7 separate regions of the Homo sapiens genome follow, and all the other regions are linked to region 2. The links are contacts of gene promoters, found by promoter capture Hi-C in blood cells and fetal thymus (Javierre and others, 2016). All regions are on one chromosome and are shown on one strand. The core of a region is centred on a gene start or on the middle of the fragment in contact, and the rest is flanking DNA. Distances in the headings are between cores, read along the strand shown. Region 1 overlaps PPIAP59 (peptidylprolyl isomerase A pseudogene 59). Region 2 holds the start of GPR32 (G protein-coupled receptor 32). Region 3 overlaps KLK10 (kallikrein related peptidase 10). Region 4 overlaps LRRC4B (leucine rich repeat containing 4B). Region 5 holds the start of KLK5 (kallikrein related peptidase 5). Region 6 has its middle 17 kb from the start of LRRC4B. Region 7 overlaps LRRC4B (leucine rich repeat containing 4B).

The links. Contacts are between HindIII fragments. The CHiCAGO score rates a contact against its expected background, and 5 or more counts as called.
Region 1: a contact is called between a fragment that was not itself captured here and the fragment with the promoter of GPR32 in region 2, in 3 of 17 cell types (M0 macrophages, M2 macrophages and M1 macrophages). The highest score is 16.4, in M0 macrophages.
Region 3: a fragment that was not itself captured here is called in contact with the fragment with the promoter of GPR32 in region 2 in 1 of 17 cell types (M2 macrophages); the score reaches 5.1 in M2 macrophages.
Region 4: a fragment that was not itself captured here is called in contact with the fragment with the promoter of GPR32 in region 2 in 6 of 17 cell types (M2 macrophages, M1 macrophages, M0 macrophages and 3 more); the score reaches 7.6 in M2 macrophages.
Region 5: a contact is called between the fragment with the promoter of KLK5 here and the fragment with the promoter of GPR32 in region 2, in 5 of 17 cell types (M0 macrophages, M2 macrophages, erythroblasts and 2 more). The highest score is 10.2, in M0 macrophages.
Region 6: a fragment that was not itself captured here is called in contact with the fragment with the promoter of GPR32 in region 2 in 3 of 17 cell types (M2 macrophages, M1 macrophages and M0 macrophages); the score reaches 7.2 in M2 macrophages.
Region 7: a fragment that was not itself captured here is called in contact with the fragment with the promoter of GPR32 in region 2 in 16 of 17 cell types (M2 macrophages, M0 macrophages, endothelial precursors and 13 more); the score reaches 47.0 in M2 macrophages.

What each region holds. Positions count from the first base shown.
Region 1 is chr19:50,923,331-50,927,048 of GRCh38, reverse strand. It overlaps PPIAP59 (peptidylprolyl isomerase A pseudogene 59), which reads left to right. Exons shown (of 1, transcript XM_047439804.1): 1 at 1-182. Among named protein-coding and RNA genes, the nearest start is that of PPIAP59, 2.4 kb to the left of the region's middle. The HindIII fragment of the contact is 1,390 bases long and covers 862-2,251 here.
Region 2 is chr19:50,768,231-50,771,981 of GRCh38, reverse strand. It overlaps GPR32 (G protein-coupled receptor 32), which reads right to left and starts at 1,518. Exons shown (of 1, transcript NM_001506.2): 1 at 250-1,518. The coding sequence starts at 1,381. The coding sequence ends at 311. The HindIII fragment of the contact is 17,473 bases long and covers 1-3,751 here.
Region 3 is chr19:51,014,195-51,018,174 of GRCh38, reverse strand. KLK10 (kallikrein related peptidase 10) reads left to right here. Exons shown (of 6, transcript NM_145888.3): 3 at 885-1,065; 4 at 2,019-2,293; 5 at 2,625-2,758; 6 at 3,223-3,980. The coding sequence ends at 3,375. Among named protein-coding and RNA genes, the nearest start is that of KLK10, 3.5 kb to the left of the region's middle. The HindIII fragment of the contact is 6,023 bases long and covers 1-3,980 here.
Region 4 is chr19:50,551,959-50,555,597 of GRCh38, reverse strand. All of the region lies in intron 1 of LRRC4B (leucine rich repeat containing 4B), which reads left to right. Among named protein-coding and RNA genes, the nearest start is that of LRRC4B, 15 kb to the left of the region's middle. RefSeq lists an enhancer at 2,925-3,639. The HindIII fragment of the contact is 9,365 bases long and covers 1-3,639 here.
Region 5 is chr19:50,950,650-50,954,312 of GRCh38, reverse strand. KLK5 (kallikrein related peptidase 5) reads left to right here and starts at 1,275. Exons shown (of 6, transcript NM_012427.5): 1 at 1,275-1,566; 2 at 1,645-1,728. The coding sequence starts at 1,656. All of the region lies in intron 1 of LOC105372442 (a long non-coding RNA gene), which reads right to left. The HindIII fragment of the contact is 21,591 bases long and covers 1-3,663 here.
Region 6 is chr19:50,583,844-50,587,598 of GRCh38, reverse strand. No RefSeq gene overlaps it. Among named protein-coding and RNA genes, the nearest start is that of LRRC4B, 17 kb to the right of the region's middle. The HindIII fragment of the contact is 3,635 bases long and covers 43-3,677 here.
Region 7 is chr19:50,535,233-50,539,050 of GRCh38, reverse strand. All of the region lies in intron 2 of LRRC4B (leucine rich repeat containing 4B), which reads left to right. Among named protein-coding and RNA genes, the nearest start is that of ASPDH, 23 kb to the right of the region's middle. The HindIII fragment of the contact is 4,058 bases long and covers 1-3,533 here.

The sequences.
Region 1 (3,718 bases), core at 307-2,806, 160 kb before region 2:
GACCATTCCTTCTGTAGCTTGGGAGAGAACCCCTTCACCCCACTTGCTTGCAGTATCCTAGAATCTTTGTGCTCTCACTGCAGTTCCCTTTGGGTTCCATGTTTTCCTTGTTCCCTTCCATGCCTAGCTGGATTGCAGAGTTAAGTTTATGATTATGAAATAAAAACTAAATAACAAAAAACTACAATAAATTCAATAAAAATAAATAAGATGAAAACGCCAAGATGTTGCACACTTCGTGGGGCACCTCGAACTCTCATACCTGGTTGAAGGGAGTGTCAAATGGTTCAACCGCTTCGGGAAAAAGTCTAGCAGTTTCTGATAATAAAAACCCCAGCCTGGGCCAGGTGCAGTGGCTCACGCCTGTAATCCCAGCACTTTGGGAGGCCAAGGTGGGCAGATCACTTGAGGCCAGGAGTTCGAGACCAGCCTGGCCAACATGGTGAAACCCTGTCTCTAACAAAAATGCAAAAATTAGCCAGGTATGGTGGTGGGAGACTGTAATTCCAGCTACTGGGGAGGCTGAGGCAGAACAATCACTTGAACCCCGGAGGTGAAGGTTGCAGTGAGCCGAGATCACAAAACTGCACTCCAGCCTGAGCGAAGGAGCAAGACTCTGTCTCAAAAAACAAAAATGAAAAAACACCCCATGATCTCACCAACCAGAGGAAACCAATGTTGACATTTGTGTGCGTGCGCGCGTGCGTGTGTGTGTATGTGTGTGCTGGACAGAGACAGGATAGCAGAGCAGCTAGGCACACAGTCTTCCGAGCCAAAATACAAGAATAATAGTACAAATGCAAGAATAATAGTACAACTTCACGGGGTTGTTTCAAGGATAATGGATTACTCAGCAAAGCTTTGGATTTGGATTTGGGTTTCAAGAAAAACTGTCGAGAAACCACTCTACCAAAACACCCCTGCAAGGCAGTAGACCAAGATGAGTGAAATTGTTCATCTTCACAATTAGGAGCTTGTCCTGAGTTTTTGTAGCTTTTTGAAACAGTGCACCTTAAGAAATAAGCCAGGTCTGCATCATCTATCTCCACTGATAACAATGAAGGGAGTCATCACTAGTTCTCACACTTAGTCACTGTTGTATAACTTACGCAACTGACTCAATGATGTTTCACAAAGTTTGTGACCAACTCAAAGGTGGTCTTTTGTTTTGTTTTGTTTTGCTTTTGTAGATAAAGTTTTATTGGAACACAGCCATGCTTATTCATGTATGTATTGAGTATGAGTTGTTCGATGAAGCAGAGTTGACTGGTTGATAACAGAAACCATATAGTCCACAGAACTTAAAATATCTTTAAAATTGCAATTTAAAAATATTTCCCTTATTTTATTTTATTTTTTATTTTATTTTATTTTATTTTTTGAGATGGAGCCTTGCTCTGTTGCCCAGGCTGGAGTACAGTGGCATGATCTCGGCTCACTGCAAACTCCACCTCCCGGGTTCAAGCGATTCTCCTGCCTCAGCCTCCTGAGTAGCTGGGATGACAGGTGTGCGCCACCACGCCCGGCTAATTTTTGTATTTTTAGTAGAGACGGGGTTTCACCATGTTGGCCAGGCTGGTCTCGAACTCCTGACCTCAGATGATCTGCCCACCTCGGCCTCCCAAAGTGCTGGGATTACAGGCATGAGCCACCACGCCCAGCCTGAAAATTTCTTTATGGTGATGAAGTAGTTCTGTATCCCAACTGTGGTGATGGTTACCTTTATCTATAGAGCTATAAGAACTAGATACATGAAAAGAGAGACAGAGAGAAACAGAGACAAACAGATGGTGGGGATGGGGTGGAGAGAGAGACAGAGAGAGAGATGTAAAAAATGATGAAATCCAAATAAGGTCTCTATGTGAGTTAACAGCATGGTATCAACGATGTTTTCCTAGTTTTGACAGTGTACTATCCTTATAAAAAATGTTACCATTGGGAGAATCTGGATGAAGGGTACATGGGCATTATTGCACTAGTTTGCAATTTTTGTGAGTTTTGAACTGTTTCAAAATAAAATGTCATAATAAAAATGTGTCTGGCATATCGGAAGTGCTCAGTAAAAAATATTGTCGTCCTCCTAGATCTCTCTGATTGCATTTTCCCTTCGACTTTATTTGCTGTATTGCCAGTGTCTATTTTCTGGCCAGCTCTAATCATTGCAGAATGAGCAATGAGATCCCTTTAGGAAAAAAAAAAAAGTTCCTCCCACTGAGTTCTCGCAGGCTGAAAGACTCTCTAGCAGAAAGCTTGACAGCCATATGTGTAATTATGAATCATCTGTAATTTTCACACCAGCTATTGTTTTATAACTTGTGTAATTATCCAAACAGTGTTTCACAAACCTTGACACTAACCAGGCATTACAGGTCTTCAATTCTGATAACAAGAAAGAGAATTCACCAAGTGGTCTAAGCTCCGGGAGACACGTTTCTTGGTGCGAAACCCAGCCTGGTGGCTAAAGGCAAGAGAAAAAAAAATAAAAACACATCTTTGTATGCATCTGTCCCTGTGCCACAAAATCCTGGAAGATGATCCAAAAAAACATATTCTAGTTTTTGTGTTTTGAAGAGGGATGAAGACAGGACAGGTTGGGGAACAAAGTTAGGTGGAGGTTTATCACTCTGTATTTTTTATAAACATATTTTTTTACCATGTAAAAATATTTTCTTCTTTTTTTTTTTTTTTCTGAGATGGAGTCTCACTTTGTCACCCAGGCTGGAGTCCAGTGGCGCGATCTCAGCTCACTGCAACCTCCGCCTCGTAGGTTCAAGCGATTCTCCTGCCTCAGCCTCCCAAGTAGCTGGGATTACAGGCACGCATCACTATGTCTAGCTAACTTTTGCATTTTTAGTAGAGACAGGGTTTCGCCATGTTGGCCAGGCTGGTTTTGAACTCCTGGCCTCAAGTGATCCACCCACCTTGGCCTCCCAAAATGCTGGGATTACAGGCATGAGCCATAGTGCCTGGCCGAAAATATTTTCTATTCAAAAAATTAAATAGAAATGATGTTACACACACACACTTGTGCCAGAGTCCCTGTGTCCAAACCTGGCTGCTCCTTACTGTGTGACCTTGGAAAATGACTTAAAAAATTTTTTTAATAGAGAAAGGGTCTCACTATATTGCCCAGGCTGGCCTCGAACTCCTGGACTAAAGCAATCCTCCCTCCTCGCCTCCCAGGATTAAAGGTGGGATTAAAGGTGTGAACCATGGCACCTTGACTTAGAAAATAACTTTAATCTCCCTTTGCCTCAGTTTCTTCCTATTTATAGTGGCGATAGAAACAGTAGCAACTTCCTAGGGTGGCTGGGAATATAAACAAGTTCATTCCTGCAAATCCCTTAAGACTATGGTACAGCACACACACTTAGCATGTGTTACCAATTAGCGGCAGTGTTCTCCCACTTCAGTAAGTGTGGAACCAAACAAAGATTTGCTTTCTTCTCACCTTTCCCCAATCTAACAAATCTAGCCAGTGAGAATTTTGCGGAGAAAAGCTGATTTCCTTTTCAAATGGGGAAAGAAATCAATTCAGAAATTGATTGTTTGCAGACAACAGAGTGGCAGGTGAGAGCGCTGGGGATCTGCACTTTTTTTTTTTTTTTTTTTTTTTGAGATGGAGTTTTACTCTTGTTGCCCAGGCTGGAGTGCAGTGGCACCATCTCAGCTCACCGCAACCTCTGCCTCCCGGGTTCAAGCAATTCTCCTGCCTCAG
Region 2 (3,751 bases), core at 269-2,768:
ACTCGGGAGGCTGAGGCAGAATTGCTTGAACCAGAAAGTCAGAGGTTGCAGTGAGCCGAGATCGCGCCACTGCAGTCCAGCCTGGTGACAGAGCAAGACTCTATCTCAAAAAAAAAAGGGGGGGGGGGCGGGGAAGAATGGACACTGGGGAGTAAGTAGCTGTCTCTACCACAGAGCTTTAGATGAGGGGTTGCTGGAAGACTTCCTGAAAGAAGAGGCAGGATTTGGCAGGGTTTTAGAAGCCAGTCAAGGTAAGAGGCCACAAGCAAACTAAGAAGGACGGCTTCCAGCTTCCAGCTGAAGTCTTCCATCATTCCCGGGGGGCGTTGCCACGGGGACAGGATGACAGAAACTCCTCCTCTCCAAACGCCCTCGCCAGGGCAGAAGTCAAAGACTGGAAAAACTTTTCTTGGAAATCTCTGCCAACGAAGACGTAGAGGAAGGGGTTGAGGCTGCTGTTGACACAGCCCAAGGCAAAGCTAGCCTGGAGGATGAGCAGCATCCGGGGGTGGTAGATTTCCTTGAGCATCACCCGTCGCCACAGATGGACCAACAGCACCACGTTAAACGGGGACCAGAAGATAAAGAAAGCGCTCACCAGCACCAGCAGCAGCCTCTTGGGCCGGTTGGCATGGACCCAGCCCTCCCGCAAGAGCTTGGCCCGGATGAGGTGGGCGCAGGTGCCTATGATTGCTAAGGGCCCCAGGAAGCCCAGCAGGAAGTGGCCAATGGTCCCTATAATGTGTCCCTCCACGACCCCTTCAATCCAAATCTGGGCAGTCTCATTGTCAGAGTTGAACGCCAAGTAGCAGTGCGTACAGCCATTCCATTTTCTGGTTGTCCGGAATTTCAGGTGCGCAGAGCACAAGGCGGCGGCCAGGAGCCACACCCCAAAGGCCAGCCAGCTCGCCCGCTGCACAGTGCGGTGGTTCAGGGCCCAGACGGGGTAGAGGACAGAGATGCAACGGTCCACAGAGATGAAGACAAGGAGGCAGTTACTGGCAAAGTAGCTGAGGAACACAAAGGTGATGTAGAGTTTGCAGGCCCACTCTCCGAGGAGCCACTGCCTGGAGACAATATAGTACATGGCAATGGGCAGAGACAGTGAGAGCATGAAATCGGCAAGGGCCAGGTGGAAGAAGCAGACGGTGGAGACCGTGCGTGCCATACGGAAGACAGTCATCCACAGCACCAGCCCATTGCCCAGCACTCCGACGACAATGGACGCAGACAGGATAACCACAGTCAGTGGGCGGAGGGACCCCACCTCCTCAGACAGGCATCCGGAAGAGTTCATCTTCCTGGAACAAGAGCGATCACGTGTCAGGACCCCAGGTTGCCTGTCACTGCAGCCTCTGGTCCCCTCCGAGACCCCATTCATGATTTCTCCATTCCATAATTTTTATGGAATGCTTATTATTATTATTCTTTTAGAGACAGCGTCATGCTCTGTCACCCAGGCTGGAGTGCAAAGGTACAATCACAGATCACTGCAGCCTCCACCTCCTAGGCTCAAGAGATCCTCCCCCCTCAGCCTCCTGGAGTAGCTGGGACTACAGGCACTTACCACCATGCCTGGCTAATTTTTTTACCTTTTTTTTTTTTTTTTTTTTTTGACACAGAGTCTTGCTCTCTCTGTCACCCAGGCTGTAGTGCAATGGTATGATCTCGGCTCACTGCAACCTCCACCTCCAAGGTTCAAGCAATTTTCCTGCCTCAGCCTCCCAAGTAGCTGGAACTACAGGCACATGCCACCACACCTGGCTAATTTTTCTGTTTTTAGTAGAGACAGGGTTTTACCATGTTGGCCAGGCTGGTCTTGAACTACTGACCTCGTGACCCGTCCACCAGCCTCCCAAAGTGCTGGGATTATAGGTGTGAGCCACTCTGCCAGGCCTTAAATTCTTTTTTGTAGAGATGGGGTTTTGCTGTGTTGCCCAGGCTGGTCTTGAACTCCTGGCTTCAAGTGATCCTCCCACCTCAGCCTCCCAAAGTGCTGGGATTACAAGTGTGAGCCATTGAGCCCAGCCTGAATGCTTTTTATGACACAATAATATTGTTCTTTTTTTTTTTTTTTTTTTGAGACAGAGTCTCCTTATGTCACCCAGGCTGCAGTGCAATGGCACGATCTCGGCTCACTGGACACTATAATATTGTTCTAAGTACTGGACATAACTCGTGTAACAAAACAAGCCCTCATGGAACTTACATCCCAGTGAGAGATGTCAGGTGTAATACATATAATAAATTTACTTCATGATATACTGCTTTAGAAGACTACAAGTGTTATGGAAAAATAATAAATGAAATGGAGGGGCCAGGTGTGGTGGCTCATGCTTGTAATCACAACACTTTGGGAGGCTGAGGCAGAAGGATTGCTTGAAGCCAGGAGTTCCAAACCAAGGTGGGCAACATAGTGAGACCGTCTCTACAAAAAATAAATAATTACAAGTTTTTGTGGCCATGCACAGTGGCTCACGCCTGTAATCCCAGCACTTTGGGAGGCTGAGGTAGGCGGATCACCTGAGGTCAGGAGTTCGAGATCAGCCTGCCCAGCATGGCGAAACCCCGTCTCTACTAAAAATACAAAAAACATTAGCTGGGTGTGGTGGCAGCCACCTGTAATCCCAGCTACTCATGAGGCTGAAGAATCACTTAAACTTGGGAGGCGGAGGTTGCAGTGAATCAAGATCGCGCCACTGCACTCCAGCCTGGGTAACGAGAGCGAAACTCCGTCTCAAAAAAATAAAAATAAAATAAAATTTAAAAATTAGCCGTGAGATGGGCGTAGTGGCTCATTCCTGTAATCCCAGCACTTTGGGAGGCTGAGGCTGGTGGATCACTTAAGTTCAGGAGTTCGAGACCAGCCTGGCCAACATGGCAAAAGCCTGTCTCTACTAAAAATACAAAAATTAGCCAGGCTTGGTGGTGCGTGCCTGTAATCCCAGCTACTCTGAAGGCTGAGGCAGGAGAGTCCCTTGAACCTGGGAGGCAGGGGCTGCAGTGAGCCAAGATCGTGCCACTTCATTCCAGCCCAGGCAACAGAGCAAGACTCTGTCTCAAAAAAAAAAAAAAAAAAAATTAGTCAGGTATGGTGGCACGTGCCTGTAGTCCCAGCAAATTGGGAGACTGAGACACGAGGGTCACTTGAGCCCTGGAATTCGAGGCTGCAATGAGCCATGGTCACGCCATTTCACTTCAGCCTGGGTGATAAAGCGAGACCCTGTCTCAATAAAAATAAAGTAAAAATAATGAGATGGAGGTTCTTTTAACTTTGGATAATGTCAGAGTAACTTTGTCAGACAAATGGTGCCACAGACAAAAAAAAAATTAAAATCTGGACAAAATATTAAAAATTACTCCACTATTTGAAAAAATTGGCAGCAGAAAAGTCTGTCAATCCAGAATTTTATATTCTGTGAAAATATCTTTCAAAAATGAAAGTGAAAAAAGGGCATTTTCAGATAAGCCAGATCTGAAATAATATATGGCCTACAGACCGCAGGAATTGCTTAAGGAAGTAAGTCCTCTAGGCTGAAAGGAGTTAATATCACATGGTGACACATATTGACAGGAAGAAATGAAGATCATGAAATGTTTTCTTTAGAAAAAGATCAAGGTAAGGCCAAGCGCAGTGGTTCACATCCGTAATCCCAGCACACTGGGAGGCCGAGGTGAGCAGATCACTTGAAGTCAGGAGTTCGAGACCAGCCTGGCCAACAAGGCAAAACCCCGTCACTAATAAAAATAA
Region 3 (3,980 bases), core at 182-2,681, 250 kb before region 2:
TTTTTTTTTTGAGACAGGGCAGTGCTCTGTCTCCGTGGCTGGAGTACAGTGGCCCAATCAGAGCTCACTGCAGCCTCGACCTCCTGGGCTCAAGCGATACTCAGCCTCCAGAGTAGCTGGTACCACAGGCATGCACCACCACATCCGGCTTTTTTTTTTTTTTTTTTTTTTTTTGAGACAGGGTCTCACTCTGTCGCCCAGACTGGAGTGCAGTGGCCCAATCTCGGCTCATTGCAACCTCCACCTCCTGGGCTCAAGCGATCCTCCCACCTCAGCCTCCCAGGTAGCTGTGACTACAGGCGCATGCCTCCGCGACTACTTTTTTGTTGTTGTTGTTGTTGTTTGTTTGTTTTTGTAGAGACTGGGTCTTGCTGTGTTGCCCGGGCTGGTCTTGAATTCCCGAGCTCAAGCGGTCCAACCGCCTCGGCTTCCCAAAGTGCTGGGATTACAGGCGTAAACCACTGCGCCCCACCCCTCTCCTGGTTTTCAATCCCGTTTTGTTATTCACACCCCTTCCTCTCCCCGATCCCCGAGTTCTATCCCCGCACCCTTACCTCCCCGCCGCGTTCAATCCCCGCCCCTCTATCGACCAGCGACGTTCTAGCCAGCTCTCCAGGCGCGCTGCGTTCAGTCCCTGCCCTCCAGACCCACCCTATTCTGTCTCATTACTCCACGCTACCCTATCCCAGCTTCCTTCCACTTTCACGCGCTTCTTCTCCTCCCATTCCCTTCGGTGCACGCGAAACCCCCAATATTTCCCTACCACCCTCGCGTTCTGGCTGCGTCCCCCGTCCCCGAACGCAGTCCAGTGCCACAGCCCAGCTCCAACCCCAAACCCAGACCCTGCCCTCCGTGCTTTGATTCCGTCCCCTTTCTTTCTCCAGCCGCAGAGGCGGCGCTGCTCCCCCAAAACGACACGCGCTTGGACCCCGAAGCCTATGGCTCCCCGTGCGCGCGCGGCTCGCAGCCCTGGCAGGTCTCGCTCTTCAACGGCCTCTCGTTCCACTGCGCGGGTGTCCTGGTGGACCAGAGTTGGGTGCTGACGGCCGCGCACTGCGGAAACAAGTAGGAGGAGATCCATCCCCGAGGACGCCACGGGGGGCTGTGGAGGCGGCCTCCAGGGAGGAGCGGGCAGGGCGGGGTCTCTCGGAACTCCCACAGCTGGAGGTGCGGTCCCCGGTGTCCTTCCAGCAGGAGGAGAGACCGGGCTTGCGCTGTGGCCGCCAGGGGGCGGTGTGGTCCTTTTCCGCATTTCTGGGCCCGTCACTCCTCTCCCGCTGATTCTCCTTGAGCTCTAGGAGGAGGTGGTTGCCTGCAACGGATAGAAGCCAGGGTCCGGTGTGGTCAGGAATTTAGAACTAAAGGAAAAGGTTCACTTCGTGAGTCCCCGTTGAAGGAGGAAGGGTTGGGTATTACCACAGAGAAAATGTGGAGTTGGGCTGGGCTCGGTGGCTCACGCCTGTAATCCCAGCACTTTGGGAGGCCAAGGCGGGTGGATCACCTGAGGTCAGGAGTTCAAGACCAGCCTGGCCAACATGGTGAAACCACTTCTCAACTAAAAATAAAATAAAATAAAAAATAAAAAATTTTAAAAAAATTAAAAAAAAAAAAAGGCTGGGTGTGGTGGTGGGTGCCTGTAATCCCAGCTACTCAGGAAGGAGGCTGAGGCAGGAGAACTGCTTGAACCTGGGAGGTGGAGGTTGCAGTGAGCCGAGATTGCGCCATTGCATTCTAGCCTGGGTGACAAGAGCGAAACTCTGTTTCAACAAAGAAAAGAAAAAGAGAAAAGAAAATGTGGAAGGCTTACCTAGGTGTCCAGGCCCCCAGCCCTCCTCAATTCCTACAGATCCTCAGAGCTCAAACAACTGATTCCTCCTCCCCATGTCCACTGAGGTCCCCTTCTCCCACAAGGCCCTCTTCCCTCAGACTCTTCCTATCTCCAGGCCCTGCGTCACTGCCCACCTGCTTTCCCAGTCCCTATGAAGGGTTTGCCTTCACATGCCTCTTCCTTCCCCCAGGCCACTGTGGGCTCGAGTAGGGGATGACCACCTGCTGCTTCTTCAGGGAGAGCAGCTCCGCCGGACCACTCGCTCTGTTGTCCATCCCAAGTACCACCAGGGCTCAGGCCCCATCCTGCCAAGGCGAACGGATGAGCACGATCTCATGTTGCTGAAGCTGGCCAGGCCCGTAGTGCTGGGGCCCCGCGTCCGGGCCCTGCAGCTTCCCTACCGCTGTGCTCAGCCCGGAGACCAGTGCCAGGTTGCTGGCTGGGGCACCACGGCCGCCCGGAGAGGCAAGAGCTGGGGCTCTGAGGCCGGAACCTCAGGAGGAGGGGGCTGAGGGCCTGAACCCCTGGGTCTGAGGAAGGATGGGCTGGGGACTGGATTCCTGGATCTGAGGGAGGACGGGCTGGGGTCCTAGATGCCTGGGTCTGTGAGTCTGAGGGGAGGAGGGGCTGGGGGCCTGGACTCCTGGGTCTAAGTGGGGAGGGGCTGGGGCCAGGATTCTTGAGTCTGAAGGAGGAGGGGCTGGGGCTTAGGATAGAAACGGTCTTGTATCTGGACTCCTGGCTCCCCAAGGATTGGGGGCTGGACCCAGGGATTACTGGCATATTCTCCCTTCAGTGAAGTACAACAAGGGCCTGACCTGCTCCAGCATCACTATCCTGAGCCCTAAAGAGTGTGAGGTCTTCTACCCTGGCGTGGTCACCAACAACATGATATGTGCTGGACTGGACCGGGGCCAGGACCCTTGCCAGGTAGGGTCTGAACAGGGAGAGTCTCTGACTCCTGGGAGGGAGGACAGGGAGGTTATGGGAAAAGAGCAGACCCTGTGCCCGATCCCCAACTCCATTCCCAAACCCATCCTTGACCCCAACTCTTACCCAGACCTAACCCCCTCCTCATCCCTATCCTCAATCCCATTTCCATCCCAACCCCACCCCATTCCCATCTCCAAGCCCATTTTCATCCCCTCACCTTCCATGAACTACAATCCCAACCCCAGTCTCACTGTGCCTTCATTCTCATCCCCCAGCCCAACCTCCCATAACCTGAAGTCCACCTCCATTCCTACCTTCCAGCTCATACCTAATTCCAACCCCATCCCATCCTCGTCTTTATCCCAACCCAACTCCTTCCTTCCCCACCACTGCCCCAGATCCCAAAGTGACAGCTCTCACGTTGGCACATTTATTTGATCTCTCCTTCCTGCCACCCCCAGAGTGACTCTGGAGGCCCCCTGGTCTGTGACGAGACCCTCCAAGGCATCCTCTCGTGGGGTGTTTACCCCTGTGGCTCTGCCCAGCATCCAGCTGTCTACACCCAGATCTGCAAATACATGTCCTGGATCAATAAAGTCATACGCTCCAACTGATCCAGATGCTACGCTCCAGCTGATCCAGATGTTATGCTCCTGCTGATCCAGATGCCCAGAGGCTCCATCGTCCATCCTCTTCCTCCCCAGTCGGCTGAACTCTCCCCTTGTCTGCACTGTTCAAACCTCTGCCGCCCTCCACACCTCTAAACATCTCCCCTCTCACCTCATTCCCCCACCTATCCCCATTCTCTGCCTGTACTGAAGCTGAAATGCAGGAAGTGGTGGCAAAGGTTTATTCCAGAGAAGCCAGGAAGCCGGTCATCACCCAGCCTCTGAGAGCAGTTACTGGGGTCACCCAACCTGACTTCCTCTGCCACTCCCTGCTGTGTGACTTTGGGCAAGCCAAGTGCCCTCTCTGAACCTCAGTTTCCTCATCTGCAAAATGGGAACAATGACGTGCCTACCTCTTAGACATGTTGTGAGGAGACTATGATATAACATGTGTATGTAAATCTTCATGGTGATTGTCATGTAAGGCTTAACACAGTGGGTGGTGAGTTCTGACTAAAGGTTACCTGTTGTCGTGATCTGACCACGTCCCGGTGAAAGCGTGTGTCCAGGGAAGAAGTGCACAGGGTAGCCCCCAGTCCCAACCTTCCATC
Region 4 (3,639 bases), core at 612-3,111, 220 kb after region 2:
CACGCCTCGAGTGCCCGGGCCCTCCCAGCCTCTGCCTTCGCCTGGATCTCAGCTCCATCTCGGGGCCTCCTGTCCTCCTGCCCCTTTCATGCCCCTTTGTATGCCTGTGTCTGTCTCCCTGTGACTCTGCCACTCTCTGCCCCTCGTACTTCTCCTCTTTGGGGTCCTTCTGTGTCTGCACCTCTGGCTTGTTCCTTGCACCAGGTGAGGGAGGAGAACAGGTGTACCCTTGTGATGGGTCCTCTCCCGGGGCAGCTGCGGTGGGAGAGGCAACCGTGGTGACCTGGCTAAGTTCTGGGACTGGGGTTCCAATGCCGGCTGTGCTGCTGGAGGGCTGTGTAACCTTTGGCAAGTGCCGCTCACCTCTGAATCTGTAAAATGGGCACAAGAACCATCCCTTCCTCCCAGGGCCGTGGGGAGAAGCCAGCAGCTTGAGGAGTGGATAGCATGGCACCCACATGTAATCAGTATTTCCCATCACTACTAGGGGTGCGTGGGGGCAGAGGGCAGTCCATGGAGCCTCTGCCAGCCGGGCGTGAAGCCGTGGTGGGGTGTCGGGCGTGTGATATCCTGTGCAGTGCGGGTGACTGCAGGGGCTGAGGAAGGGTGGCTGTTCAGCATGCCTGTGGCCTTGCCTGCACCCTGCCCCCCACACACAGGCAGCCTCCATGGGAATTGTTGCTGCTGTCAGGCCACACTTGGGGGTCTTTGGGGCCCCTGGACTCTGGCAAGGCTGACCTAGGAGGGGCCACTTCCTAGCCGTGTGTTTCGCATTAGGCAACTAACAGTACCTCTGTGTGTCTCAGCTTTGCTAGCTGGGAACTGGGTGTAATAGCAGTCTTCTCTCAGAGGGTTGATGTGAACTGCGGTGGCTAATGCAAGTAAAGCTCCCAGAATGGTGCCCAGTCAGTGCCAGATGTGTGTTGGACGTTACCACCTTTGGTGGTGTCATTATTCAGTGAGTTCACGCAAGTCAGATGTGTGTGCGGAAGAGATGAGGTTAGCCAGCATTCCTGTTATCCAGGTCAGAGGGCTCTATCTGGGGACAACTGGGGCCAGGTGCCCTCTCAGTATGCAGCTGTATCCAGGAGTGTAGCTCACGCAGGTGGTATCTGAGGTTTGGGCAGAGTGGTAGCTTTCCTCTGGGTGCACGGAGCTGCGCTGGGGACCTCCTGTTTGGAACCTGAGGTGTAGTATCTGGGACTTAGCCATCCGGGTGGTGCTGGGGCACGGAGGGTGACCCAGGGCATGGAGGGTGACCCGGGACATTGGTGTCCAGCTGACGTGAGATGTGTGCTTCCTCGGCCAGGTACGGTGGCCCACACCTGTCATCCCAGCACTTTGGGAGGCCAAGGCAGGTGGATCACTGGAGGTCAGGAGTTCAAGACCAGCCTGGCCCACATGGTGAAACCCCCGATTCTAACTTAAAATACAAAAATTAGCCGGGGTGGTGGTGAGCGCCTGTAGTCTCAGCTACTCAGGAGGCTGGGGCAGGAGAATTGCTTGAACCCAGGAGGTAGAGGTTGCCATGAGCTGAGATCGCGCCACTGCACTCCAGCCTGGGCAACAGAGTGAGACTCTGTCTCAAAAAAAAAAAAAAAAAAAAGGTGCTGCCTCTGCCAGCAGGCCTCCTGGGATGGAAGGGGACCTGGGGACCGAGGGTGTCCAGGGCTGGGAGCCTGCATTGTGCAGCTATTGCAGTGCGGCCTGGCTCGGTGTGCAGAACGGAGAGTGGGGGTATCTGTGTGTGAGCGTGGGGGGAAATAGACTCACAGTGATGATAACGTACCCATCCGTCCCTGCACCCAGTGTTTGGTGAGCAACTGCCATGTGCCCAGCACTGTTGTGGGTCCTGGGAACCAAATAGTCACAAACTGACTGCCCTCGGGAAACTTGCCTTCAAGCGCACGGACCCATATAAAAGCTCAGATGCTGATAAATGTCATGGAGAAAAAGGAAACAGAGAAGGTTCTGGAGAGGGATAGGGGTGCTGTTTGATGCGGGGCGGTCAGGACGGCCTCACTGAGAAGGTAGCATTGGAGCACGGACCTGATAGAGAGCAGGGCAAGAGCCCTGTGGACAACCGGCAAAGAGCATTCCAGGAAAAGGGAAGAGCAGGTGCAAAGGCCCTGGGGCCGGGGTGTGCACGGCCTGTTCTGGAAACAGCGAGTGAGCAGGGGGAGGAGGGAAGCGATGAGGTCAGAGGAGGAGCTGGGGTGGAGAGTGGAGACCTGAAAACTGAAGTCCTCATCTCTGCTCTGAGTGGGACGGGAGCTGTGGAAGGCTGTGGAGCAGAGGCGGGGCAGGGTCCATGGGGTGTTGACAGGATACCCCTCGCTGCCCGTGGGGAACGCACGGGGAGTGGGGGTGAAGGCAGAAATGGGGAGGCTGGAGGGGAGGACACTGTAATCGTTCAAGAGGGAGATGGGAGCCAGGTCAGGGAAGTAGCCTGGGCGTGGGGAGAAAGATCCTCTGATTCTGGGGTCTGATTCCGCATATGTTGTGAAGACAGAACTCTTTACCAAGGATTTAGCGATTTAATCCCCACAGTGGCCCTAGGAGGCAGATACTCCCATTATCCCTGTTTCACAGTGGAGGGAACTGCAGCTTGGGAGAATAAGCCACCGGCCCGAGGTTACACGGGAAGTGGCAGCAGAGTCAGGACTCAAACCCAGGCCTCTCGGCACTCACCAATGTGCCCCACTCTCGAGAGGTGCCTTTTGTGGCCCATGGGTGTCCTGGGCTAGTGTCTAGCACATAGCAGGGACTGGGTAGACATTTGTTGGACAGATGGATGGAAGGATGGATGGGTGGACGGATGGATGGATGGATGGATGGGTGGATGGATGGGCGGAGGGATGGAAGGACGGATGGATAGACGGATGGACGGATGGGCGGATGGATGGACGGATGGATGGATGGATGGATGGATGGATGGATGGATGGATGGACGGATGGGCGGATGGATGAATGGATGGATGGATGGATGGATGGATGGATGGATGGACAGATGGATGGACGGATGGGTGGACGGATGGATGGACGGATGGATGGGCGGATAAGTTGAATGAATGAACGTGGCTGCCCTGCAGATTTTGCAGAAGTGTGTCAGGAGGTGGATGTCAGGATCTGGCTAAGGTCCAAGGGAGAGGGGTTCCTCTAGGGGTGGGGGCCTTTGTGGCATGGAGAGGGGCTGGCCCTCAGCCACGGGACGGGGTGACGGTGCAGGGCGCAGGTTCCAGTGCCGGTATATCAGGTGTGGTATATCAGGGTTGGAGTAAAGGCTGTGTGGCATGGTGGGGGTTCAAAGGAGTTCCTGGGGTACAGGGGCATCTGCAGGAAAACGCTGGGCAAGATTGTGTGCCTAGACCCAGTGGGGGGTGTGAAGCTGGGGGGTTTTGGCTGGAAGTGGGGGCGAGGGGGTCAGTGGTGGCCCAGCCCGGTCATGCAGCCAACGAGGCTGTCTGTGTGCCATGAGGCTCCGGCTTGGCACGGCCCAACCACCCCCCTTTCTTGGGCAGCCCAGCCGGCAACCTTCCTCCCCCGCTTCCCCCGACCTTCCTCGGCTGCCTCCTCGGCTGCCCAGAACCAATGGGTTAATTAGATAACGGAGCCTTTGATTAGCGGGGGAGGGGGAGG
Region 5 (3,663 bases), core at 26-2,525, 180 kb before region 2:
GCCGGGATGGCCTCGATCTCCTGACCTCGTGATCCGCCCGCCTCGGCCTCCCAAAGTGCTGGGATTACAGGCGTGAGCCACCGCGCCCGGCCATGATCATCTTCTTGACTATGCTGATGTGACAAGTACCTAAAGCCATCAGACTCTACCCTTTAAATATGCAGTTTGGGCCAGGCACCGTGGCTCATGCCTGTAATTCCAGCACTTTGGGAGGCAGAGGTGGGTGAATCACTTGAGGCCAGGAGTTTGAGACCAGCCTGGCCAACATGGTGAAACTCTGTCTTTACTAAAAAAAAAAAAAAAAAAAAAAAAATCAGCCGGGTGTCGTGGGGCACACCTGTAATCCCAGCTATGCTGGAGGCTGAGGCACGAGAGTCACTTGAACCCTGGAGGCGGAGGTTGCAGTGGGCCGAGATCACATCACCGCCCTCCAGCCTGGGCGACAGAGCAAGACTCTGTCTCAAATAAATAAATAAACAAACGAACAAGCAGTTTGTTGTACCTTAGTTATATCTAAAAAAAAAATGCTGTCAACAAATAGAGCAGAAGTGAAATAAAGGAAAATAAATGGGCCAAGAACTCTAAGGTATATTTGACAAATCATTCAGAACCTTTAAAAAAGAAAGAATCACAGAGGCATAGAAAGACAGGGAGGAACAGGGAGACAGAAACACCTGTGGCCCAAGGAGAACAAAACAAGGCTCCTAAGACAGACAGGAGGAGAGAGAGAGAGAGTGAGTGAGAGACAGACAGAGAAAAAGACAGAGAGAGAGAGACAGAGACAGAGAGACAGAGAGGCGAGAGGGATAGAAAGAGAGAGAGGGGTGGAGAGAGACACGAGATATTGAGAGAGACTCAGAAAGATAGCCGAGGGAGAACCACAGAGAGATGGAAGAAGACTCTGAGAAAAAACCAGAGACAAAGATGGAAAGAGGAGTATCGAGGGTGAACAGACAGTGGTGGAATGAGCAAAATGCAGAGAAGAAAGCAAGCAATCCAGGCGCCAAGAATAGTGACCCAGAGTTGGTGAGAAGCCAGATCCTTAAGGCTGGGGGAGGCAGGGAAGGGGCTGGCCTGGCTTCCGGAGACCCCTCCCCATTCTCCGGGCCAGGGAGGTAGGGAGTGACATTCCGGACTGGGTGGGGGGTGCTCTGGGGGTGGAGATAGGGGGAGCAGGAGGAGCTATTGCTAAGGCCCGATAGGCACCTCATTGCCCGGGAATGTGCCCCAGGGAGCAGTGGGTGGTTATAACTCAGGCCCGGTGCCCAGAGCCCAGGAGGAGGCAGTGGCCAGGAAGGCACAGGCCTGAGAAGTCTGCGGCTGAGCTGGGAGCAAATCCCCCACCCCCTACCTGGGGGACAGGGCAAGTGAGACCTGGTGAGGGTGGCTCAGCAGGCAGGGAAGGAGAGGTGTCTGTGCGTCCTGCACCCACATCTTTCTCTGTCCCCTCCTTGCCCTGTCTGGAGGCTGCTAGACTCCTATCTTCTGAATTCTATAGTGCCTGGGTCTCAGCGCAGTGCCGATGGTGGCCCGTCCTTGTGGTTCCTCTCTACCTGGGGAAATAAGGTAGGGGAGGGAGGGGAAGTGGGTTAAGGGCTCCCCGGATCGCCTGGGCCTCCCAACCCTCTGACATTCCCCATCCAGGTGCAGCGGCCATGGCTACAGCAAGACCCCCCTGGATGTGGGTGCTCTGTGCTCTGATCACAGCCTTGCTTCTGGGGGTCACAGGTAACCAGAACTCTGGGGTGGGAGGGTTGTGGGATTGGGAGGACTGTCTCTGCGGCACTAGAGCGCCTGTCCCCTGGGGAACTGTGTGAGCCTGGGCATGACTCCGGGACCGGGTGAATGTGAGTCTCTGTCTGTACTTGTGGTTGTGCGATCGTATGTGGCCCTGTGACTGCCACGGTGTGTGTCGGGGAGGGGGATGCCTTTTCCCATATCAGGTGACTGTGCGGCAGGTGGCACTGACCCTTTGAGGCTGTGTGTGTGGTTTTGTGATTGTGTGTGCATTTAAGATTGTGTGTGGCTCCACAGCTGTGTGGGTGAATGCATGTAGCACTGGGGGTGTTCACTGTGTGTTTGGCTGTGTGTGGTGACTTGGCATTGTATATGACTGCAGGTATCTGCAGTTCCTGTCCCTGAGGTCCCGGGATTGCGTGCAACAAAAGTGGTCATCACCATGGAAAGCTGTGACTGTGTGCTGCTTGCAGGCGATTATGTGATTGTGGCTGAGTGTGACGTTATGGATGCCCGTATTTGTGACCGTGTGACTACCTGAAGCTCTGTGTAGGGGTGACTGTATGTGACTGTGTGTGTCTGTGTGAGGCCGTGTAAATGCTACTGTATGTGTGATGGTGCAGCTGTGTGTCTGGAGTTTCTGTCTCTGCCTGGAGGGATAGAGGGTGCAGGGGTAGCTATCTCTGGGAGATGGGTGCCAGGTGACTGACTTGCAGTGTGTGCCTGTGTGCAGAAGAGTATGTGGCAGTCTGAACATCTGTGCACACACGGCATCTGTGCGTGGCACTGAGACACTGTGGATGAGGGTGTGCGATCCCGCTAGGCTGCCCGGGAGCGTGTGTACCTGGAGACAGAGCTGTATGTTAGCTGCACCTGTGGAGGCAACATGGGCGTGTCTGCAGAACTGCGTGCGTGCTTGGCTGTTACTGCTGTTGTGCGCGTGGTTCTTGGGGTGAGTTCGTGAATGATGGTGGTGCCAGGGCCATCAGCAAGGGTAAGAACCAGGCCGGGCGCGGTGGCTCACGCCTGTAATCCCAGCCCTTTGGGAGGCCGAGGCAGGCGGATCACCTGAGGTCGGGAGATCGAGGCCAGCCTGACCAACATGGAGAACCCCGTCTCTACTAAAAATACAAAAAATTAGCTGGTGTGGTGGCGCGTGCCTGTAATCCCAGCTACTCGGGAGACTGGGGCAGAAAAATCGCTTGAACCCGGGAGGTGGAGGTTGCGGTGAGCCGAGATCGCGCCATTGCACTCCAGCCTGGGCAACAAGAGCGAAACTCCGTCTCGAAAGAAAAAAAGAAAAAAAAAAGGGTAAGAACCAGTGAATGGGCACGGGAGGACTGATGATGGAGTGGGGCATGCATGTAGTCTGTAGGTCTGTGTGTGAGAGGAGGAGATTGACAGGATTGAGAAGGCATGTTTTCATCTGAGAATTCAGAAACCTAGGCCTGCTCTTCCCCTCCATGTGGCCCCCTAAGCTGAGCCCTTCTTTCCTGGTCCTGCTTTCGGAACCCTAGCTCCGCCCATGAGCTCTGACCCCACCTCCTTTCCTCAACCACGCCCCTAGGCCAGACTCTAGTGGACCCCGCCTAAGGCCACACCCCTTTGGGCCAGGCTCCACCCCCTATTCTGTGGGTACCTTCTAGAACCCCCTTCAAAGTCAGAGCTTTTTTTTTTTTTTTTTTGGAGACAGTCTTGCTCTCTCTCCCAGGCTGGAGTGCAGTGGCGTGATCTCGGCTCACTGCAACCTCTGCCTCCCAGGTTCAAGTGATTCTCGTGCCTCCACCTCCTGAGTAGCTGGGATTACAGGTGCGCGCCACCACGCCTGGCTAATTTTTGTGTCTTTAGTAGAGACAGGGTTTCACCTTGTTGGCCAGGCTGGTCTCAAACTCCCAACCTCAGGTGATCCGCCCACCTCGGCCTCCC
Region 6 (3,755 bases), core at 611-3,110, 180 kb after region 2:
AATAATATACAGATAGACTTTCCTTGCTTCTTAAAAAAAGCTTACAGGCAAAGCTAAAATTCCCTTTGGTCACCTCTCTCTCATCTACATCTCTTCTCTGGAAGTAACCATGATTATTGGTTTATGGTTGATCCTTCTGGATCTTTGTCTAAAAGTGAGTGCATGCTGCATGTGTGTGTGTGCATGCATGTGTGTGCATGTGTGTGCGTGTGTGGTAATAGAGTATATGCATAGTATTGTATAGTAAATGAGTAGTATTGTTTTGAGCAAGCATATGAGTGTCTTTTAACATAAATGGGATCCTACTGTACATATTGTTCTGCAGCTTGCTTTTTTAACTCAACAATATGTCTTGGAAATCTATCCAGATTTATTTAAAGAGCTTGTCCTCTTCCTTTTAAAAGCTGCAGTAGTATTCCATAGAACTCGGCGTTTCTTTGTCCGCTCTCCTCTTGCTGGACATTTGGGTTATTCTTGGTTTCTTTGCTTTTACAAACAATGTTGCTATGAACATCTTTACATGAGTTTCCTTGGAGACATGTCTAATAAGGAGAGTTAGAATTATCAAGTTATATGAATGTATTCATTTTAATTTTAATAAACAATTCCTGGAACTGTCAAGTATTTCTACATAACAAATACCAAAAACTCAGCAACTTCATGTGTTCTTGATCTAGCCAGGCTTTTCTGCTTTTTTGTTTATTTGTTTTTTGTTTTGTTTTGTTTTGAGACAGTCTCTCTCTGTCGCCCACGCTGGAGTGCAATGGCACAACCTCGGCTCACTGCAACCTCCGCCTCCCGGGTTCAAGTGATTCTCCTGCCTCAGCTTCCCAAGTAGCTGGGACTACAGGAATGCACCACCACGCCTGGCTAATTTTTGTATTTTTAGTAGAGACAGGGTTTCACTATATGTTCGCCAGGCTGGTTTTGAACTCCTGACCTCAAGTGATTCACCTGCCTTGGCCTCCCAAAGTGCTGGGATTACAGGCGTGAGCCACTGCACCCGGCCTAGCCAGACTTTTCTAGGGCTGCTCTGCTTGAAGCTGCAGGTCTGGCTGGCTCAGGTCCGCTCCAAGCATCTCATTCTGGGGCCCAGGTTGAGAGAAGGTAGGCTGCCAGGGAGAGCGTCTCGTGGTGACGGCTGGGGCACAAGCGGACTAGAGGCAGATGCAAGGCTTCTGAAAGCCTAGACTCAGACGCTGGTGCATCCACCCACATGCCATTGGCCAAAGCAAGTCAAGTCAAGTCAACTGTGCAGAGTTAAAGGGCAAGGAAGCACCCCACATACACGATGAGGCCGTGGCAAGGGTGTGGAACCATTGGTAGACATACTGATTTTCACTTTTTGTGTGTGTGTTTGTGACAGGGTATCGCTCTGTCACCCAGGCTGGAGTGCAAAGGCGCGATCTTGGCTCACTGCAGCCTCCGCCTCCCGGGTTCAGCTGCTCCTTATGCTTCAGCCTCCCGAGTTGCTGGGATTACAGGTGCCCGCCATCACACCCAGCTAATTTGGTATTTTTAGTAGAGACGGGGTTTCACCATGTTGACCAGGCTGGTCTCCAACTCCTGACCTCAGGTGATCCACCCGCCTCAGCCTCCCAAAGTTCTGGGATTACAGGCATGAGCCACTGAGCCCAGCCTGATTTTCTTTCTGCTGGTAATGGGACAGAGGACCTGTTCCCCCACATCCTCATCAGTGCTTTTTTTTTTAAGCTGAGCCTCTCTCTGTTGCCCAGGCTGGAGTGCAGCTGTGCGATCTCAGCTCGCCACAACCTCCGCCTCCTGGATTCAAGCGGTTGTCCTGCCTCAGCCTCCCAAGTAGCTGGGATTACAGGCGCTTGCCACTATGCCCAGCTAATTATTGTATTTTTAGTAGAGACGGGATTTCACCATGTTGGCCAGGCTGGTCTGGAACTCCTGACCTCAAGTGATCCGCCTGTGTTGGCCTCCCAAAGTGCTGGGATTACAGGAGTGAGCCACTGGCCCAGCCCATCTCATCAATGCTTACTACACCAGTTAACTTTGGTTTTGCCAGTCCTATGGGGGGAATATATATTGATTTCCTCTCCCTTAAGGCTATTGTCAGCCAAAACGCAGCACGAAGTAGAGGGAAAGTACCAGGTGGAAGAGCCTGTCACCGATAAGAGATCCTCCACCTCAGCCTCCTGAGCAGGCACGTATCACCACGCCTGGCTAATTTTTCTGATTCTTTGCAGAGACGGGGGTCTCCCTATGTTTCCCAGGCTGGTCTCAAACTCCTGGGCTCAAGCTATCCTCCCACCCTGGCCTTCCCAAGTGCTAAAATTATAGGTTACTCTGTCTCAAAAAAATAAAAATAATAAAATTATTAGTCAATAAGTCAGGAGTGGCTGGGTGTGGTTGCCCACGCCTGTAATCCCAGCATTTTGGGAGGCTGAGGAGGGCAGATCATTTGAGCCCAGGAGTTCGAGACCAGCCTGGGCAACATGGTGAAACCCCATAAATACAAAAATTAGCTGGGTATGGTGGTGGGCACCTGTAATCCCAGCTACTTGGGAGACGAAGGCAAGAGAATCACTTGAACCAAGGAGGTGGAGGTTGGAGTGAGCTAAGATTGCACCGCTGCACTCCAGCCTGGGTGACAGAGACTCTGTCTCAATAACAATAATAATAATAATAAAATTATTAGTCAATAAGGCAGGAGTGGCCAGAAATGGTGGCTTATGCCTATAATCCCAGCACTTTGGGAGGCCAAGGCGGCTGGATCACTTGAGCCCAGGGGGCTTGAGCCCAAGAGTTTGAGACCAGCCAGGGCAAACATGACAAAACCCCATCTCTACAAAAAAATACAAAAATAAGCTGGGCGTGGTGGCAGGCGCCTGTAGTCCCAGCTACTCAGGAGGCTGAGGTGGGAGGATTTCTTGAACTCAGGAGGTGGAAATTGCAGTGAGCTGAGATTGTGCCACTGCACTCCAGCCTGGGTGACAGAGCAAGACTCTGTCTCAAAATAATAATAATAATAATATGGCAGGGCCGGGCACAGAAGCTCACGCCTGTAATCCCAGCACTTTGGGAGGCTGAGTCAGGCAGATCATCTGAGGTCAGGAGTTTGAGACGAGTCTGGCCAACGTGGTGAAACCCCATCTCTACTAAAAATACACAAATTAGCCGGGCATGGTGGTACCGGCCTGTAGTCCCAGCTACTCTGGAGGCTGAGGCAGGAGAATCGCTTGAACCTGGGAGGCAAAGGTTGCAATGAGCTGAGATTGTGCCACTGCACTCCAGCCTGGGCAACAGAGCGAGGCTCTGTCTCTAAAAATAAAAAATAAAAATAAAAATAAATAAAATAAATAAATAACTTAGGAGTGAAATGAAAACAGGCTACAGGTAAAGCAGCATCCCCAGATCACATGTACTCCATTAACACTTAAGTTTTTTTCAGATTTGGCTATAATAAATGATTCTATGAGATACATCTCTGTGTGTATATTTTTGTCTACCTCTCTGATGACTTCCTGAATATAAGTTCCTATGAGTTGAATTGCTGGGTCATTAACAAAAGTTTTCTGCAGAAGCTAAAGCAATTTTCACATTAACTGTTTCATTTAGTTCCTTTTATAAAGCCCAAAGGCATAGCATTACAACAGCTCAGTGATTCCTTCCTCTGCCCATCAAATGAGCAACAAATGTTTTAAGCTTCTACCAAATGCTAGAGAGAGTGCAGCCAAACAGACATGCATGCTGATACTCAGTTGTCAGAAGGTAAATTGCCACAA
Region 7 (3,818 bases), core at 255-2,754, 230 kb after region 2:
AAAATTAGCCGGGTGTGGTGGCGGGCACCTGGCTACTTGGGAGGCTGAGGCAGGAGAATCGCTTGAACCCAGGATGCAGAGGTGGTAGTGAGCCGAGATCGTGCCACTGCACTCCAGCCTGGCGACAAAGCAAGAATCCGTCTTGAAAAAAAAAAGGCGGCGTGCGGTGGCTCGCACCTGTAATCCCAGCACGGTGGCTCACACCTGTAATCCCAGCACTTTGGGAGGCCAAGGCAGGTGGATCGCTTGAGCTCAGGAGTTTGAAACCAGCCTGGGCAACATAGCAAGACCCCATCTCTACTAAAAATACAAAAATTAGCCAGGTGTGGTGGCACGCACCTGTAGTCCCAGATCCCTGGGAGGCTGAGGTGGGAAGATTGCATGAGGCCAGGAGGCAGAGGCTGCAGTGAGCTGTGATTTTGCCACTGGACTCCAGCCTAGGTGGCAGAGCAAGACTCTGTCTCAAAAAAAAAAAAAAAAAAAAAAAAAAACAAGACAAAACCCAAACTAACCAAATAAAAACCCCGGCCATAGTGCATTATCAAGGCAAATACCAAGAATAGCTTTTAAATTACCCACTAGTTCGCATTTTCCAGGCGGCTGATCCCTCCAGGGGCATGAAACATGGAGCTTTTGATTGGACAGACTTTTCCCAGTTAGAGCCCTTTAAGGAAGAAAACGGTGGGAGGGCCGGGCGCGGTGGCTCGCGCCTGTAATCCCACCACTTCGGGAGGCCGAGGCGGTTGGATCACCTGAGGTCAGGAATTGGAAACTAGCCTGGCCAACATGGCGAAACCCCGTCTCTACCAAAAATACAAAAATTATCTGGGAGTGGTAGTGCGTGCCTGTAGTACTAGCTACTCAGGAGGCTGAGGCAGGAGAATCACTTGAACCCGGAGGCAGAGGTAGGTTGCAGTGAGCTGAGATTGTGCCACTGCACTCCAGCCTGGGCAACAGAGAGAGACTCCATCTCAAAAAAGGCAAAAAAGAAAGAAAGAAAGAAAATGGCGGAAGGGAGGATCTGTAGAGGGGAATCTAGGAGCTGACCTCTCTTGAGGTCAACTGGGACATTCCCCAGCCGCGGGCCTGCGACCAGCAGCCAGGAGGTCCTCTGGATAGGAGGGAGCAGTGCGCCCTCTGCCGTCCGTTCCCGGGCTGCTGAGACTTCGTGTCTAACTGCGGCCTCCCTGGCTCTCATTCCAGCTGAGTTATCCTCTTCATTCCCTCAGCAGCGCCATCTCGGGGCCCACATAATCCTTGTCACCACTCCGAGCCTCAGTTTCTACCCTTTTCAAATAGGATTTCCCATACTTTGTCAGTTTCTTCTTAACTTTTTCTCATGATGACTCACAGCACACTTACAGAAAAGAACAGTCGGCCGGGCGCGGTGGCTCACACCTGTTAAAGTTAAATTGACAAAGGCGTAGAATTGCTTGGCGTCCTGCAAAGCCACATGGCCCCTGAGCCTCGGGACAGGCTGCTGGGTGGGAGTATCAGTCCCACATCTCTGTTGAGCAGCCTGCGAGTCCTGAGAGGCACAAGACCCGCGTTCTCCCCTCCACGAATGACGCTAAGGCGTTGAGTCACCTCTCTGAGCCTGCCTTCTCGTCTAGAAAATAGACCAATTATTTCTACAGCTCAGCGAGGGTGGGCGGGAGAATGTCAGTCGGGCCCCCAGCATTGCTCCAAGCCCTTTACAGGGTCAGTGAATTTCAGCCTCACGACAGCCCCCTGAGTAGGTCCTATTCTTCTCATGTTACAGATGAGGAAACTGAGGCATAGGAGAGTTAAGACACTTGCAAACGGTCCTGGTCCCATGGTTAGTAACGGAGCTGGGACTCGGCCCAGGCAGGCTGGCTGCAGAACTTGGTTTTTTCAACGCGATTCGTAATGCTTCCTAATTCGTAGCTATCCCTGGCGCTGCACCCTGGTGACTCAGTCTCAGAACTGCCACTGAGTCCCAGTCTACATCCCCACAGCCCAGCCTGGCTCTGGCCTTGTCCTTGCTCATCTGGAAGCCCCAGCTTCTTCCTAGCCTCCCAGATGTAGCCTGTACCCACACACCCCTGCCACCACACCCAGCTGGAGTCGCCACACCAACTCCTCCTAGGGGACACCTTTCTGCAAGCCACCCTGTCCCCATCTCAGATCAGGATGAGTATGCCTGGCGCTCCCAGCTACACCAAGCTCAGGGGCACCCTCTACTGGGCACCAGAAGCTACCCCAGCCCCTTCCTTCCCACCCTTCCAGAAACTTGCCCTGCCTTTAAATAGTCACAGACAGATGTGCTTGCCCTGTGCCAGGCGCTCTTCTCCATGGCTTACAGATATCGAGACAGTTTAATCCTCACAAGGATGCCGTGGTCTCGTCACCACCCCGTGGCGAGTCTAGGAGCTGAGCTGAGACCCGTGCATCTTTCTCCCTGCATGGGCTGTCCCTCCTGTGTCTGAACAGCCCCGGCTAATCCATCTGCAGCATTCAGTGCAGCCCTGATTTGTTTATTGAGCACCTAGTGTGTGCCAGGCACCACCCGAGGCCCAGAGAGCAGGACATACAGAGATCCCTGCCCTCTCGACACTGCGTGCAGAAAGAGGTCGTTCAGAAAGTCGGCAAGTCTCATCCGGGCACAGTGGCTCACGCCTGTAATCCTAGCACTTCGGGAGGCTGAGGCGGGTGCTCACTTGAGGTCAGGAGCTTGAGACCAGCCTGACCAACGTAGTGAAACCCCATCTCTACTAAAAATACAAAAATTAGCCAGGTGTGGTGATGTGTTACTGTAATCCCAGATACTCGGGAGGGTGAGGCAGGAGAATCGCTTGAACCTGGGAGGCGAAGGTTGCAGTGAGCTGAGATCATGCTATTGCACTCCAGCCTGGGCGACAGAGCGAGACTCCATCATAAAAAAAAAAAAAAGGAAGGTAAACAAGTCCAGTAGCAGCGTGCACGAGCTGGCGGGGGGCTGCTGAGCTGAACATAGTGAGGGGAGGCCAGGGAAGGCTGCCCAGGAAGCGGTGTAGGCCCATGGCCTGTGCCTCAGCTTAACCCCACTCTCCCACCCCACCCGCAGGTGCCTTAGGCAAAGTCCTGCTGCCTTGCTTGGTCTTGCACATGCCTCTGATATAGATCTCATCCCCTTGTTGTTTACACCCAGGTTCAGATGCCTCTCTGGGCTCCTGGTGGTGGGGAAGGGTGGGAGGCGGGTAGCCATCCAGCCAGACTTTCCACCCAGGCCAGGGCCTGGTCCCAGAAGGGCTCAGGAGGCCACTCCCAGGAGGATGAATGGGAGGAGGGAGACAGGGACGTCTAGGCCTGAGCCGGGTCAGTGTGAGAATCAGGGGCCCACAACGGCCCCTGCAGTGCTGCCAGTCATGGCATCAGGGAAGTCCCTGTTGGAGAGGGAGGCACAAGTTCCTTGTCTCAGGGACAAGCAAGAAATATGAGAAGTCATCATAAAGACAGTTGATGTGACAAATAACGGTTTTTAAAATCTGAATGTAAAAAAATTAACACACACACACAAACAACAGTAAGCTTGCTAAACTTTTGTGATTGACTCATTATATTCAAAACATAAAAACAGGCCGAGTGCAGTGGTTCACGTCTGTAATCCCAGCACTCTGGGAGGCAGAGGCAGGCAGATCACCTGAGGTCAGGAGTTGGAGACCAGCCCGGCCAACTTGGTGAAACCTTGTCTCTACTAAAATACAAAAATTAGCCTGGTGTGGTTGTTTGCACCTGCAATCCCAGCTACTCAGGAGGCTAAGGTGGGAGAATCACTTGAACCCAGGAGGCGGAGGCTGCAGTGAGCTGAAATCATG